Linked DNA regions of Homo sapiens: region 1 is linked to region 2. Evidence: promoter capture Hi-C in 16 types of primary human blood cells and fetal thymus (Javierre and others, 2016). All regions are on one chromosome and are shown on one strand. The core of a region is centred on a gene start or on the middle of the fragment in contact, and the rest is flanking DNA. Distances in the headings are between cores, read along the strand shown.

The links. Contacts are between HindIII fragments. The CHiCAGO score rates a contact against its expected background, and 5 or more counts as called.
Region 1: a contact is called between a fragment that was not itself captured here and the fragment with the promoter of LINC01996 in region 2, in 1 of 17 cell types (erythroblasts). The highest score is 5.3, in erythroblasts.

Annotation. Positions count from the first base shown.
Region 1 is chr17:4,859,174-4,865,639 of GRCh38, reverse strand. The region is part of intron 1 of MINK1 (misshapen like kinase 1); the gene reads right to left. Among named protein-coding and RNA genes, the nearest start is that of MINK1, 29 kb to the right of the region's middle. RefSeq lists a silencer at 5,492-5,786. The HindIII fragment of the contact is 168 bases long and covers 4,601-4,768 here.
Region 2 is chr17:4,608,264-4,614,807 of GRCh38, reverse strand. It overlaps LINC01996 (long intergenic non-protein coding RNA 1996), which reads right to left and starts at 4,359. Exons shown (of 2, transcript NR_145431.1): 1 at 3,975-4,359. It overlaps SMTNL2 (smoothelin like 2), which reads right to left. Exons shown (of 8, transcript NM_001114974.2): 8 at 6,489-6,544. The HindIII fragment of the contact is 12,447 bases long and covers 1-4,519 here.

The sequences.
Region 1 (6,466 bases), core at 3,435-5,934, 250 kb before region 2:
GTGCTGAGATTACAGGTGTGAGCTACCATGCCTAGCCTATTTTAATGTTTTTTTCATAGATCACAATTTCATCATTTTATTCTATGTAGCTGTTCCACATAGGCACATTTGTCCTTATGAGAAAAAGGGGAAGAAAAAAAAATCCTTGAAACTTTCCCCCTCTAGTCCAGTGTCTGGTTATTTATTTATTTATTTATTTATTTTTTGAGACAGTGTCTCACCCTGTTGCCCAGGCTGGAGTGCAATGGCGCGATCTCGGCTCACTGCAACCTCCACCTCCCGGGTTCAAGGGATTCTCCTGCCTCAGCCTCCCAAGTAGCTGGGATTACAGGCGCCCACCACTACACCCGGCTAATTTTTTGTGTGTTTTTAGTAGAGACGGAGGTTCACCATGTTAGTCAGGCTGGTCTCGAACTCCTGACCTCAGGTGATCTGCCCGCCTCGGCCTCCCAAAGTGCTGGGATTACAGGCGTGAGCCACCGCGCCCGGCCCAGTGTCTGGTTATTTAAATACACATCTCATGTAAAACAGAAAAGATAAAAAAGTAAAGATAAAAATAAAAACGTATGGAGTGACACTCCTCCTGCTGCTGCCAAGTGTGTCTCTTGGACCAAAAAGGAGGAAGGAAGGTTTTGGTCGTGGAAAGAGCTCTGGTCTGTCTTATGTGCTGTGAAGTGCAGGGTGCCAAGAGAGCACACCTGACCGAGGCTGGGGAGCCAGGAAAAGGTTCTTTTGAAGAAGACATATTCAAGCTGCGGTGGTCTAACCGGCTTTCCAGTACCCTCCTCTAAACAATGAGTGCTGTAATCTGCCCCATCCTTCCGGTCCTGATCTTTACCACTTTAGGAGCTTGCCCATATCGGCCATCTCAGAGATCACTGTCATTGTCCACTCTCCCCATAGCTCTTTTTTTTGAGATGGAGTCTCACTCTTGTCGCCTAGGCTGGAGTTCAATGGTGCGATCTCGGCTCACTGCAACATCTATCTCCCGGGTTCAAGCGATTCTCCTGCCTCAGCCTCCCCAGTAGCTGGGATTACAGGCACCCACCACCATGCCCGGCTAATTTTTGTATTTTTAGTAGAGATGGGGTTTCACCATGTTGGCCAGGCTGGTCTCGAACTCCTAACCTCAGGTGATCCACTCCACCTCGGCCTCCCAAAGTACTGGGATTACAGGCATGAGCCACCAGGCCCGGCCCCCATAGCCCTTTATTTAATTAATTAATTATTTATTCTTTTTGAGACAGAGTTTTGCTCTTGTTGCCCAGGCTGGAGTGCAAGGGTGTGATTTCGGCTCACTGCAACCTCCGCCTCCCAGGTTCAAGCGATTCTCCTGCCTCAGCCTCCCGAGTAGCTGGGATTACAGGCATGCGCCACCACGCCTGGCTAATTTTGTATTTTTAGTAGAGACGGGGTTTCTCCATGTCGGTCAGGCTGGTCTCGAACACCCGACCTCAGGTGATCCACCCACCTCAGCCTCCCAAAGTGCCGGGATTACAGGCATGAGCCACTGCACCTGGCCCCCATAGCCCTTTAATAATGACACAGCTAGGCCGGGCAAGGTGGCTCACTCCTATAATCCCAGCACTTTGGGAGGCCGAGGCAGGCGGATCATTTGAGGTCAGAAGTTTGAGAGCAGCCTGACCAACATGGTGAAACCCCGTCTCTACTAAAAATACAAAAATTAGCTGGGCGTGGTGGCACACACGTGTAATCCAGCTACTTGGGAGGCTGAGGCAGGAGAATCTCTTGAACCCGGGAGGCGAAGGTTGCAGTGAGCCGAGATTGCGCCACCGCACTCCAGCCTGGGTGACAGAGTGAGACTCCGTCTCAAAAATAATAATAATAATAATAATAATGAGACAGCTAGCAATTTTTGAGCATTTCATTTGTTCCTGGTACTGCCGAGCACTTTAGAAGTATAATCTCACATGACAAACTTTGAAGTGGGTACTATTGTTATACTCATTTCACAGGTGAAAAAGTTTACAACAATTAAACACTTGCCCAGGCTAGGAAGTGGTAGAGCCAAGATTTGACTGAAAAATCTGACCTCAAGGCCTGCAGTGTGCTTTGCCTGGCTCATAGCTCCTGTTGCCTAAAGGACCGGGTTTTCCACCATTTCCTCCCCTTTCTAGCCCCAGCAACAGTTTAAGACATGAGTTCCTGACCCCAGGGAGCCAGTCCAAGATTGAAGGAAAAAAGGTAACCTAAGGCAAACTTCCCCTTCAGCCATTTCAAATAAAAGGGAAGATGCCAAAGAGTGCATGGAGAGTCAAGGCTGGAGAGCCCATTATTATCTCAGGTAAAGGAAAGCAGAGGCCATGAGTGGGCAGAGTGGCCACACTGTACACAGAGAGCACAGCAGACATGGAAGGAGAGGGCATGGGAACTACAGGGGGAGACAGAAGCGGGAGAGTGACCAACTGACTCTAGCTATCCCCCGCTGTTACCATTAACCCAGAACCACCCTATGGTTTCAGTTCCAAGGAACTGTCTGGGCTGCCATTCAGGTGCCTAGGTTCGAACAAGATTCTTTTTCTTTTCTCTTTTCTTTTCCCTTGGCATGTGAAGTGAGAAGGATTTTTTTTGGTTTTTGTTTTGTGAGGCAGGGTCTTGCAATGTTGCCCAGGCTGGAGTGCAGTGGTGCAATTGCAGCCCACTGCAGCTTCAACCTCTTGGGTTCAAGCAGTCCTCCCACCTCAGCTTCCTGAGTAGCTGGAACCACGGGCATGCACCATCATGCCCAGCTACTTTTTAAAACCTTTTTTGTAGAGATGGGATCTCACTGTGTTGCCCAGGCTGGTATTGAACTCCTGGGCTCAAGCAATCCTGCTGCCTCGGACACACAAAGTGCTAGAATTACAGGCATGAGCCACACGCCCTTCCAAGAAGGGTCTTGACTTTAAATAAAAAATAATATTGACAGCCTGGCACTGTGCTAAGTGTTTTACACACACCAACTAATTTTTCTTTTTTTTTTTTTGAGATGGATTCTCACTCTGTCACCCAGGCTGGAGTGCAGTGGCGCAATCTTGGCTCACTGCAACCTCCACTTCCTGGATTCAAGCAGTTCTCCTGCCTCAGCCTCCCAGTAGCTAGGATTACAGGTGCCCGCCACCACGCCAGGCTAGTTTTTGTATTTTTAGTAGAGACGGGGTTTCGCCATGTTGGCCTGGCTGGTCTTGAACTCCTGACCTCAGGTGATCCACCCGTCTCGGCCTCCCAAAGTGCTGGGATTACAGGCGTGAGCCACCGTGCCTGGCCCACACACCAACTAATTTAATCCTCACCTAACTCCATGAGGTAGATATTATTATTATTCTCACTTTACAGAGGAGGAAACAGGCTCAGGGAAGGTAAATAACTTGCCAAGGTCAAACAGCTATTTCAGTGGCAGAGCCAGGGTTTGAATGCATGTAGCCGGCTCGAGTCTCTGCTGCATCTCTCCCTTTATTTGACTTAGCTAGAGCAGATTCCTTCCAACCCAACAAGCCAGACCACAACATCTCTATTTAACCTTTCACAGGACCAAGCCTCATCTCCACAAGTAGAACAGAAGCTCATTAAGGGCAGGAGCCATTTCTAGGTGGTACTTGGGTATACATGGAATGAGAATTAGGCGGCCTCACACTGAGATGGGTGCCCGAATGAAAACAGCAGTACTTTATCTGTGCAGCTCTGAATCTATAACATACACAAAACGACTATTGTCGCATAGTGAGCATGTGGGGTAACAGTCTGCGGCTGCTTTCTCTCACTCACTAGAGCTTCTATTACTAAGCATGTCTTATCTCCTCACATTTTACATATAATAAAATTGTGTAAAATCTTTGGTTGGGCCGGGCATGGTGGCTCACCCTGTAATCCCAGCACCTTGGGAGGCTGAGGCGAGTGGATTACCTGAGGTCAGGAGTTCAAGACCAGCCTGGCCAACATGGTGAAACTCTGTCTCTACTAAAAATACAGAAAGTATCTGGGTGTGGTGGCACGTGCCTGTAATCTCAGCTACTAGGGAGGCTGGGGCAGGAGAATCGCTTGAACCCAGGAGGCGGAGGTTACAGTAAACTGAGATCGTGCCACTGCAATCCACCTTGGGCAACAGAGTGAGACTCCAACTCAAAAAAATAAATAAATAAAAACCTTTGGTTGATGGAGAGGCTCAAGAAGATACCATACAAGTGTTGGACTCAATTATTGAAAGGTGGGGCTCTGGAATAACAGACAGAGCGCCTCATGTGGGTCGAAATAGATGTCGCCTGGCACTGTGCCCTGCGTTGTTTACGATGTATAATTGTACATATTGCTTTGCTCAGCTATGAAGAGCCAACAGTGATGTTAACGCAGAAACTCTTGGTAGATGTCTCGTCTCTCGCAGCTCCGCATACAATGCAAGGCACTGGCCACACCAGGCTGGCCCCAAGCAGCACGTCCTGGTGACACTGCACTCGCCTCACTAGGGAGCTGCCTGTGGTTTGCTCCTGTTCCCCTCACAGCTCCAGGTATGTTCTGAGTATATACGAGGTCACCAAATCGTCGCTGATTTAATGATTCAACGCCAGACAGAGCAAGGCGGAGCTGGGTTTGCTCAAGGAAAGCTTTTCAGAAGAAGCTGAGGAACAAGGGCTGGAGGGAGAGAAGAGGCACAAAGCTGGTGGCCTGAGGCAGGCAAGGGGAGGGCACGAGCTGTCCCCTCAGACTCTGCTCCTCTGCCTTAAATCCCCCTTTAACTATTTCAAGTGTATTAGTTTCCCCAGCTTCAAAAGCTTCCCGAAGTTGCTCCCTAAGGCTTCGGCATCTCCCCAGCACGTGGCGCGCACTGGTGCTGTACAGTTAAGGGACACAGCGCCGTGGTCCTTCCACCTGCACCACGGTCTCTGCTCCCTAGAACTGACCAGGGGAGAACCAGGCACACACCAGCCTTGAGCCCTTGCTTCTTTGCTCTGCTCAGCCTCAAGGGACTCCCTGGACTCCTCCCACAGCTCCTACCTGGAGGAAAAACTAGGGGCAAATGTGAGCCCGTTGCAGCTCTCACGGTGCTGCCTGGGGCCCAGCATCAACAGACATTTTCCTTTCCTTTCCCCAAAACCAAAGTCATGTTAGTGTAGTAGTAGTAGTACAGACTGAGAGGAGATTAGAAACAAAGGGTTTGATTATTTCCCAAGAGAAAATGCAAGAGTTCATGCATAAACTGTTTCCAGAACGCTGTCCGGTTGGGAGGCTGGGACACGAACTGAAACTCAGAGCCTAGGAAGCGTGAGCCAAGGCTGTGGGGCCAGGAAAAGGAGAGAAGGTGAAACCCCCGTCAGTCCCTCACAATCAGCACGTGGAAATCTAGAAATGCAGGAGAGGCCTGGACTCATGGTGGAATCCAGAATGAAAGAGGTGGACGACTGAATGAGCAGAAGGAGGCAAGCACCAGAGGCTTGGGGGTCACATTTCTTGGAAGTGGCCTGGAGCTGGCAGATGAGAACTCTGGCTACCCGTCCTCATTCCACTAACAGTAGCTCCTCTAACGACATGCCCCTTCCCTCTGTACCCCGCTCCGCATGCGGCAAGTAGTTCCCGGACGCGACCCTTCCCCCTGTACCCCGCTCCGCATGGGGCCAGTAGTTCCCGGACGCGCCCCTTCCCTCTGTACCCCGCTCCGCATGCGGCAAGTAGTTCCCGGACGCGCCCCTTCCCTCTGTACCCGGCTCCGCATGCGGAAAGTAGTTCCTACGGTGTTGGTTTTGCATGTAGATGAAACCCTTTGAGGGGTAAAGGTTTTTTTTTTAAGTACTTTAGCAAATGCAAACTGTTATTATCAATATTAGCCAGCATCTTTTTTTTTTTTTTTTTTTTTTTTTTTGAGATGGAGTTTCGCTCTTGTCACCCAGGCTGGAGTGCAATGGCAAAATCTAGGCTCACTGCAACCTCCGCCTCCCAAGTTCAAGCGATTCTCCTGCCTCAGCCTCCCAGGTAGCTGGGATTACAGGCGTGTGCAACCACACCCAGCTAATTTTTGTATTTTTAGTAGAGACAGGGTTTCACCATGTTGGCCAGGCTGGTCTCGAACTCCTGACCTCATGTGATCCATCCGCCTCAGCCTCCCAAAGTGCTGGGATTACGTAGCCAGTGTCTTTCTTAAGTGCCTGTCAAATAATGCTCCTGGTTTATAAGTGCCCCTGGCTCTACCTTCTGGGTGCTCAGACACCAACACAGAGAGAACAGAATTAACATCCTGAGAAGTTACATATGCTAAAATATAAAGAGTAAGATTGTGAGGAAACTGCAGGGGAAGCAGGTAGGTTAGGAAAAGGTATCCTCACTTTTCTGCTGACCGATGAGTCATAATTCTTGAATTTCGGTGCTGGAAAGGTCCATTAAGCATTCCAGGAGATTCTAGGGAGCTTCCAGAATGGTAGAAGAACTGGAACCATAAAGCCTGGGGAAGGGATGGAAGTCCTTGGGAAAGAAGCACTAA
Region 2 (6,544 bases), core at 3,110-5,609:
GTTGCGGTGAGCTAAGATCGTGCCATTGCACTCCAGCCTGGGTGACGAGAGCGAAACTTTGTCTTAAAAGAAAAAATCAAGTGAAAAAATAGAAAAATGAATAAAGACAGAAGAGTTCTTAGAACAAGATATACAAGTCTCCTGTAAACATGAAAATATGCTCATCTTCACTCATAAGAGAAATTCACATTTAAACTACACTGAAACCATCTGTCTCCTAAAAATTCAAAAACCTGACAGCACTCGCTGTTGGGGAAAAGCAAGCATTCTCATGTGTCTGGTGAGACTGCAAAACAGAGGAGATTTGGGCAATGTCTAACAAAATATGCATTTACCCTTGAACCCAGCAATCTCAATCCTGGGAACTAACCCTGAAGATCCACCCTCACAAATGCAAAACAGCATACACCCAAGGCTGCTCACCGCAGTCCTGTTTGTAATAGCAAAATACTGGAAAAAAACCCAAGATATCCCTGCCTCGGAGATGGGCTGAACAAGTGATCAGCTAGCACAGTGGAGGGCTATACAGGCATTTTTTTTTTTGAGATGGAGTCTTGCTCTGTTGCCCAGGCTGGAGTGCAATGGTGCTATCTCGGCTCACTGCAACCTTCGCCTCCAGGGTTCAAGCGACTCTCCTGTCTCAGCCTCCCAAGTAGCTGGGATTACAGGCGCACACTGCCACACCCAGCTAATTTTTTGTATTTTAGTAGAGACGGGGTTTCACCGTGTTACCCAGAGTGGTTTCGAACTCCTGAGCTCAGTTAATCCACCCACCTCGGCCTCCCAAAGTGCTAAGATTACAGGCATCATGAGCCACCGTGCCTGGCCTATGCAGGGCTTTTTTAAAGAGGAGGAGGATCAGCCGGGCGCAGTGGCTCACACCTGTAATCCCAGCACTTCCCTGGGAGGCCAAGGCAGGCGGATCATCTGAGGTCAGGAGTTCGAGACCAGCCTGGCCAACATGGTGAAACCCCGTCTCTATCAAAAATACAAAAATTAGCCAGGCGTGGTGGCGGGTGTCTGTGGTCCCAGCTACTTGGGAGGCTGAGGCAGGAGAATCGCTTGAACCTAAGAGGTGGAGGTTGCAGTGAGCTGAGATTGCACCACTGCACTCCAGAGCAAGTCTCCATCTCAAAAAAAGAAAAAGAAAAAGAAAAAAAGGACGAGAAGGATCTCTGTGAAATGATAGATATATACCTGCTTATTGTTGTGGAAGGAAGGTAAAAAGAAAAGGAGGAAGGGAGAAGACAGGCAAGGAGGAGAAAACAGAGACTAAGGGTGGGAACAGATGGAGGAATGGGAATGGGAATATACCTTTTTGTAGAGTTTTGACTTTTGACCTAGGTGAAGTATTTACATAGTCAAAAAAAGAAAATAAAAATGATGGAAACAAACCTTTAATTGAATACAAACAGAATCAAGTCAACCTCATGCATATCAAATTCATAACATGGTTTCCAAGAGAAAATAATTCAAGTAACTTTTATTTCTTTTTTTTTTTTTTTGAAACAGGGTCTCACTCTGTCACTTCGTGTGCTGGAGTGCAGTGGCGTGGTCTTGGCTCACTGCAACCTCCGCCTCCCAGGTCCTGGTTCAAGCAATTCTCCTGCCTCAGCCTCCCTAGTAGCTGGGATTACAGGCATGTACCACCATGCCCGGCTAATTTTTGTATTTTTAGTAGAGACAGGGTTTCGCTATGTTGGCCAGGCTGGTCTTGAACTCCTGGCCTCAAGTGATCCGCCTGCCTCGGCCTCCCAGAGTGCTGGGATTACAGGCGTGAGCCACCGTGCCCAGCCTCAAGTAACTTTTGAATCCAGCACCCTGTGCACCCTTAGGGAATATACCCAAAGGTGGGGAAAGGGGCTGAAGGGAAATCCCAAACCTTACTTGGTGGGTTTGTTGTTGGCAGTGACATCAGTTTAAGAATTCGGAAACTACTGTTTCAGAATTTGGACATTGCGGTACAGAAGAAATCCGTAAGTGTATTGAAATTGTTGGGAATCAGGATGGTTTGAAAAAAGGAAAAATAGGGACTAATGTACAGATGAGGCCTGTGGTGCTGAATTGAAGCTGGAGGTTTCAGTATACTTGCAGGCTCTTCTAAAACATCTTAGCTCTGTTCACTGCAAGGGCCTAGAAGCAGGACACCCAGCAAAACCGGCACACCAAGTCCCTGGACCTTCATTGGGAAATAAAAATTCTCCACCACAAGAGACCAGGATCTGAATAAATGACTGATTCCACAGTTGGGGCAAGGAAAGTAAAAGGTCAGTCTGGAGCGCCTTGTGCCAGAAAGCAAGAATGTGCCCAAAGGCCGGGCACGGTGGCTCACGCCTGTAATCCCAGCACTTTGGGAGGCCGAGGTGGGCAGATCACCTGAGGTCAGGAGTTCAAGACCAGCCTGGCCAACATGGTGAAACCCCGTCTCTACTAAAAATATAAAAATTAGCCAGGCGTGGTGGCTTATGCCTGTAGTTCCAGCTACTCAGGAGGCTGAGGCACGAGAATCGCTTGAACCTGGGAGGTGGAGGTTGTAGTGAGCTGAGATCACGCCACTGCACTCCAGCCTGGGCAACAGAGTGAGACTCTGTCTCAAAAAAGTAAAAGAAAATAAAATGCTCAAAGAACCATGGGAATATGGCAAAAAGACACAAGAGCTGTCTTCTCCCTCTGAACAGTTTGAGCATCAAAAAAAATTATAACAGTAAGCGATTACAACACATTGAATTAAAAAAAAAAATCCATGGGCCTCCAGGAACACTCAAAAACTGAGTTGGAGGGAGGGAAAGACTTTCTTTACAGAAGAATGCCAGCCAGTAAACATCAAAGAAATATATGTTTTTTTTTTTTTTGAGATGGAGTCTCGCTCTGTCGCCCAGGCTGGAGTGCAGTGGCACGATCTCCGCTCACTGCAAGCTCCTCCCGGGTTCACGCCATTCTCCTGCCTCAGCCTCCTGAGTAGCTGGGACTACAGGCGCCCGCCACCACGCCCAGCTAATTTTTTGTATTTTTAGTAGAGACGGGGGTTTCACCGTACTAGCCAGGATGGTCTCGATCCCCTGACCTCGTGATTCGTCTGCCTCGGCCTCCCAAAGTGCTGGGATTACAGGCGTGAGCCACCGCGCCCGGCCAGAAATACAATTTTTTGAGACAGAGTTTCACTCTTGTTGCCCAGGCTGGAGTGCAATGGCTCAATCTCGGCTCACTGCAACCTCAACCAAATTGAGGTAAAACACTCAATTTGGACATCCACAGACTCCCCAAAGTCCTGGGCTATGAACCCTAATGTAGAAGAAGGAGCATAGAGCTTAGGTCACAGCACATAGGAGCAACAAGCCGAGGAGAGGAGGCTCTAATGAACAGAGGAGGGAAAGCAACAGCCAGAGAGGAGGGCAAGCCAGGAAGAGCCTCGGCAGCACAAATGCCACTCAGTCTGCAAACCAGATAAGGACGCTTGCACTGGGAGTGATTAAAACTCAGATCCCCGGCCGGGCGCAGTGGCTCATGCCTGTAATCCCAGCACTTTGGGAGGCCAAGGCAGGCGGATCACTTGAGGTCAGGAGTTCGAGACCAGCCTGACCAACATGGTGAAACCCCGTCTGTACTAAAAATACAAAAATTAGCCTGGCATGGTGGCGGGCGCCTGTACATCCAGCTACACAGGAGGCTGAGGCACGAGAATCGCTTGAACCTGGGAGGTGGAGGTTGCAGTGAGCCAAGATTGTGCCACTGCACTCCAGCCTGGGTGACAGAGTGAGACTCCGTCTCAAAAAAAACAAAAACAAACAAAAAATCAGAACCCTAAAGATCGATTTTATATCCACCTACGTGACAGTAAGAAAGCTGGATCAACTTCAGGAATGAAGGTGGACAGTCAAGACCTACGGTAACACTGTCTGGTGTCTCTCTGGTGCCACCACCCACATCACCTGCCTCTGGTTCAGGGCCCCTTCCCAGCTTGTCATCCCACCTACCTGGACCTTGTCCCTCCAGTGAAGGCTGCCCGGATGCCTCAGAGAGCACAGCCTTCTTAGCTTCATTCTTCCGGAGTGCTTTTCCTTATTTGGTGCTTTCTAGGGAGTAGGCAGGTCAGGTCTTAGGGATTTTTCTTTCTTTCTTTCTTTCTTTTTTGAGACAGGGTCTCACTCTATCTCCAGGCAGTGGCACAACCATCGCTCACTGATGCCTTGACCTCCCAGGCTCAAGCCATCCTCCCGCCTTGGCCTTCCAAGTAATGGGGACTACAAGCATGTGTCACTACACCTGGCTAATTTTAAAACTTTCTGTAGAGACAGAGTCTCACTCTGTTGCCCAGGCTGGTCTCAAACTCCAGAGCTCAAATATTTGTCCTGTCTCGGCCTCCCAAAGTGCTAGGACTACAGGCATGAGCCACCGCGCCCAGCCTAGGAATTTTTAAGGTGTTCTTTCAAAAGACTATGAGGGCTGTTTGGTATCAAAGCAAGTCCAAGAACCAAGAGATAAGAGATCAAAAGCTCTAAAAGCAAACCCAATCCAAGCTTTAAAAGTGAGAGAGATAAGATGGCTCAGAAATAATCATACTGGGTCCATTTATCAGGTGGTTGGGAGAGCACAGCTAACAGAGGGAGAAAAAATAAATCAAGTGGGCCACGTCCACAGGCGTAATCAACTCATCAGAATGAGTTGGTCACCTGTCACCAGCTAGAAAAACCCAAGCCAGAGTTGGTTCTGCTGGACTGGTAAGATGTCCCACCCCAAACTGACCAACTGAATCAGCATTTCTAGTCTTCTGTGCAATTGCCTGCAGTCGTATAGACCCGGTCATGATGGCAGAGAATAAAATCTTCTCTCACACCGGTCTCCAGTTACAGAGTTCTGATCACTGCAACCGGGAAAGCTGAGAACTCTTCATCATCTAGCACATTTGCGAAATTCATTGGCTTTAACAAACTGTTCCCCAAACACCTGGCCTGTGCGGTCTCCTCTCACCAGCATGTGCTCTGTCATATTCAGAAAGTGCTTATAGGCTCTCGCTTGCCTTGAAAAATATCCATCAGCTATCAGAAAAGCTAAAACCCATCGTGGCTCTGGTGAAACGTTCACTTCAGGGAAACACACAAGCCAATTTGGTCCGACTTAATAAGTTTAACAAAATCCAGGTGAAGGAATCTATCTGGAAAAACAGAAGACTCTTATGAGCAGCTCCAAGAAATAATTCTCTCGGGAAAGGGGAAAAAAGATGTGAATTCCTCCATACCAGGGTAGAAAGCAAGATGAAATTGGGTCTCACAAATGGGGAACATTCACGTAACCCCGACCTAAAACGGTGGTTTCCAAATATCTTAGGATTGTGAGACCTTCCTGGATTTTCTTCTCATGCTTTGTCTTAGAGGTAAAATCATGTTTGAAACTCACAAACTGTCTTATGATCTCTCACCCCCCACCCCCAACAAAGACCACAGACAAGAACATCATGGAACCAACTTTAAAAACTCGAGTCTGTCTCATTCTGAATGTGAGACATGAGGGACACCATTCCTAAAGTTTAAAAGAAATTGTTCTGCATTCTGGCAGGATCTGCTCTGTTTCATGCGCAGAGCGTACGGCCATGTCTGCAACTCGGGAGAGCTCCATTTAACGTGTGCGAGGACTCAGTAACATATAGCCATGCTTTTTACAGAGCCCTTGTGTTCCCAGATTGGCTTCAGGTTTGAAACCCTAACCTTCAGTTATGTGTCCTGTTAATAATAGGTCTCACCTCCCCAAGCGTACAAGAGACGAGAGAGCTAGCAAGGGAATGGTTTCCAGAGTGGGAGAATCCGAGAGAGAGGGCAAGACTGCAGCCTGGACCAACCAATCCATGGAGAATACTGCTCACCCACCTGCAGGCTCTGCCATGTTCCTCCTGACACCCCCAGGGATCTCCTGCCCACCCCCCAATATACCACCCAAGGGACACGTGGGACCCCACAAAGGCACACAGGCACTGGTGTTGAGAGCCGGCTGCATGAGGTGAAGACACAGATCCGCTCCTTAAAGGGAAGGTTTAGAAGTGCATGGCTAAAATCCAACCCAATTATACAATGATTCTTGGCTGAGAATAAGCTAATGGCTGGAGCTCTATAGAATCTCAAGATTTTTCTATGAAAGTCCTACCACCAAACAGCTGTGAAAATAAACCAACGTTCCTTGATGGGCTTCCTCCAAGTGCGGGACCACCCCAAACCCTGCTGTCTTGGGCCACTGTTTATCACAAACACTGCGGTCTACATCCAGAGGACGGATCTCAAGGGGAACTTTCTGTTGACGCTCCTTCCACAACATGGAGATGGGAGACAGGCACACTCAGAGATGATCAGAGATGACAGCAAATGCCATCTTCAGCTTTCCAGGCCAGTGATTTAAGTGCAGGAACAGGGGTGGAATGTAGTGGATATTCACTTGGAAGGTGTGCAAAGTCTCTTATTCACAGAACTCCCATCTCCTAAACAGAAATGACAAACCCCAAGCAAAATTCAACACATCTTTTTTATGTATAAATGGGTCAGTGGTACAGAGGGAGTTA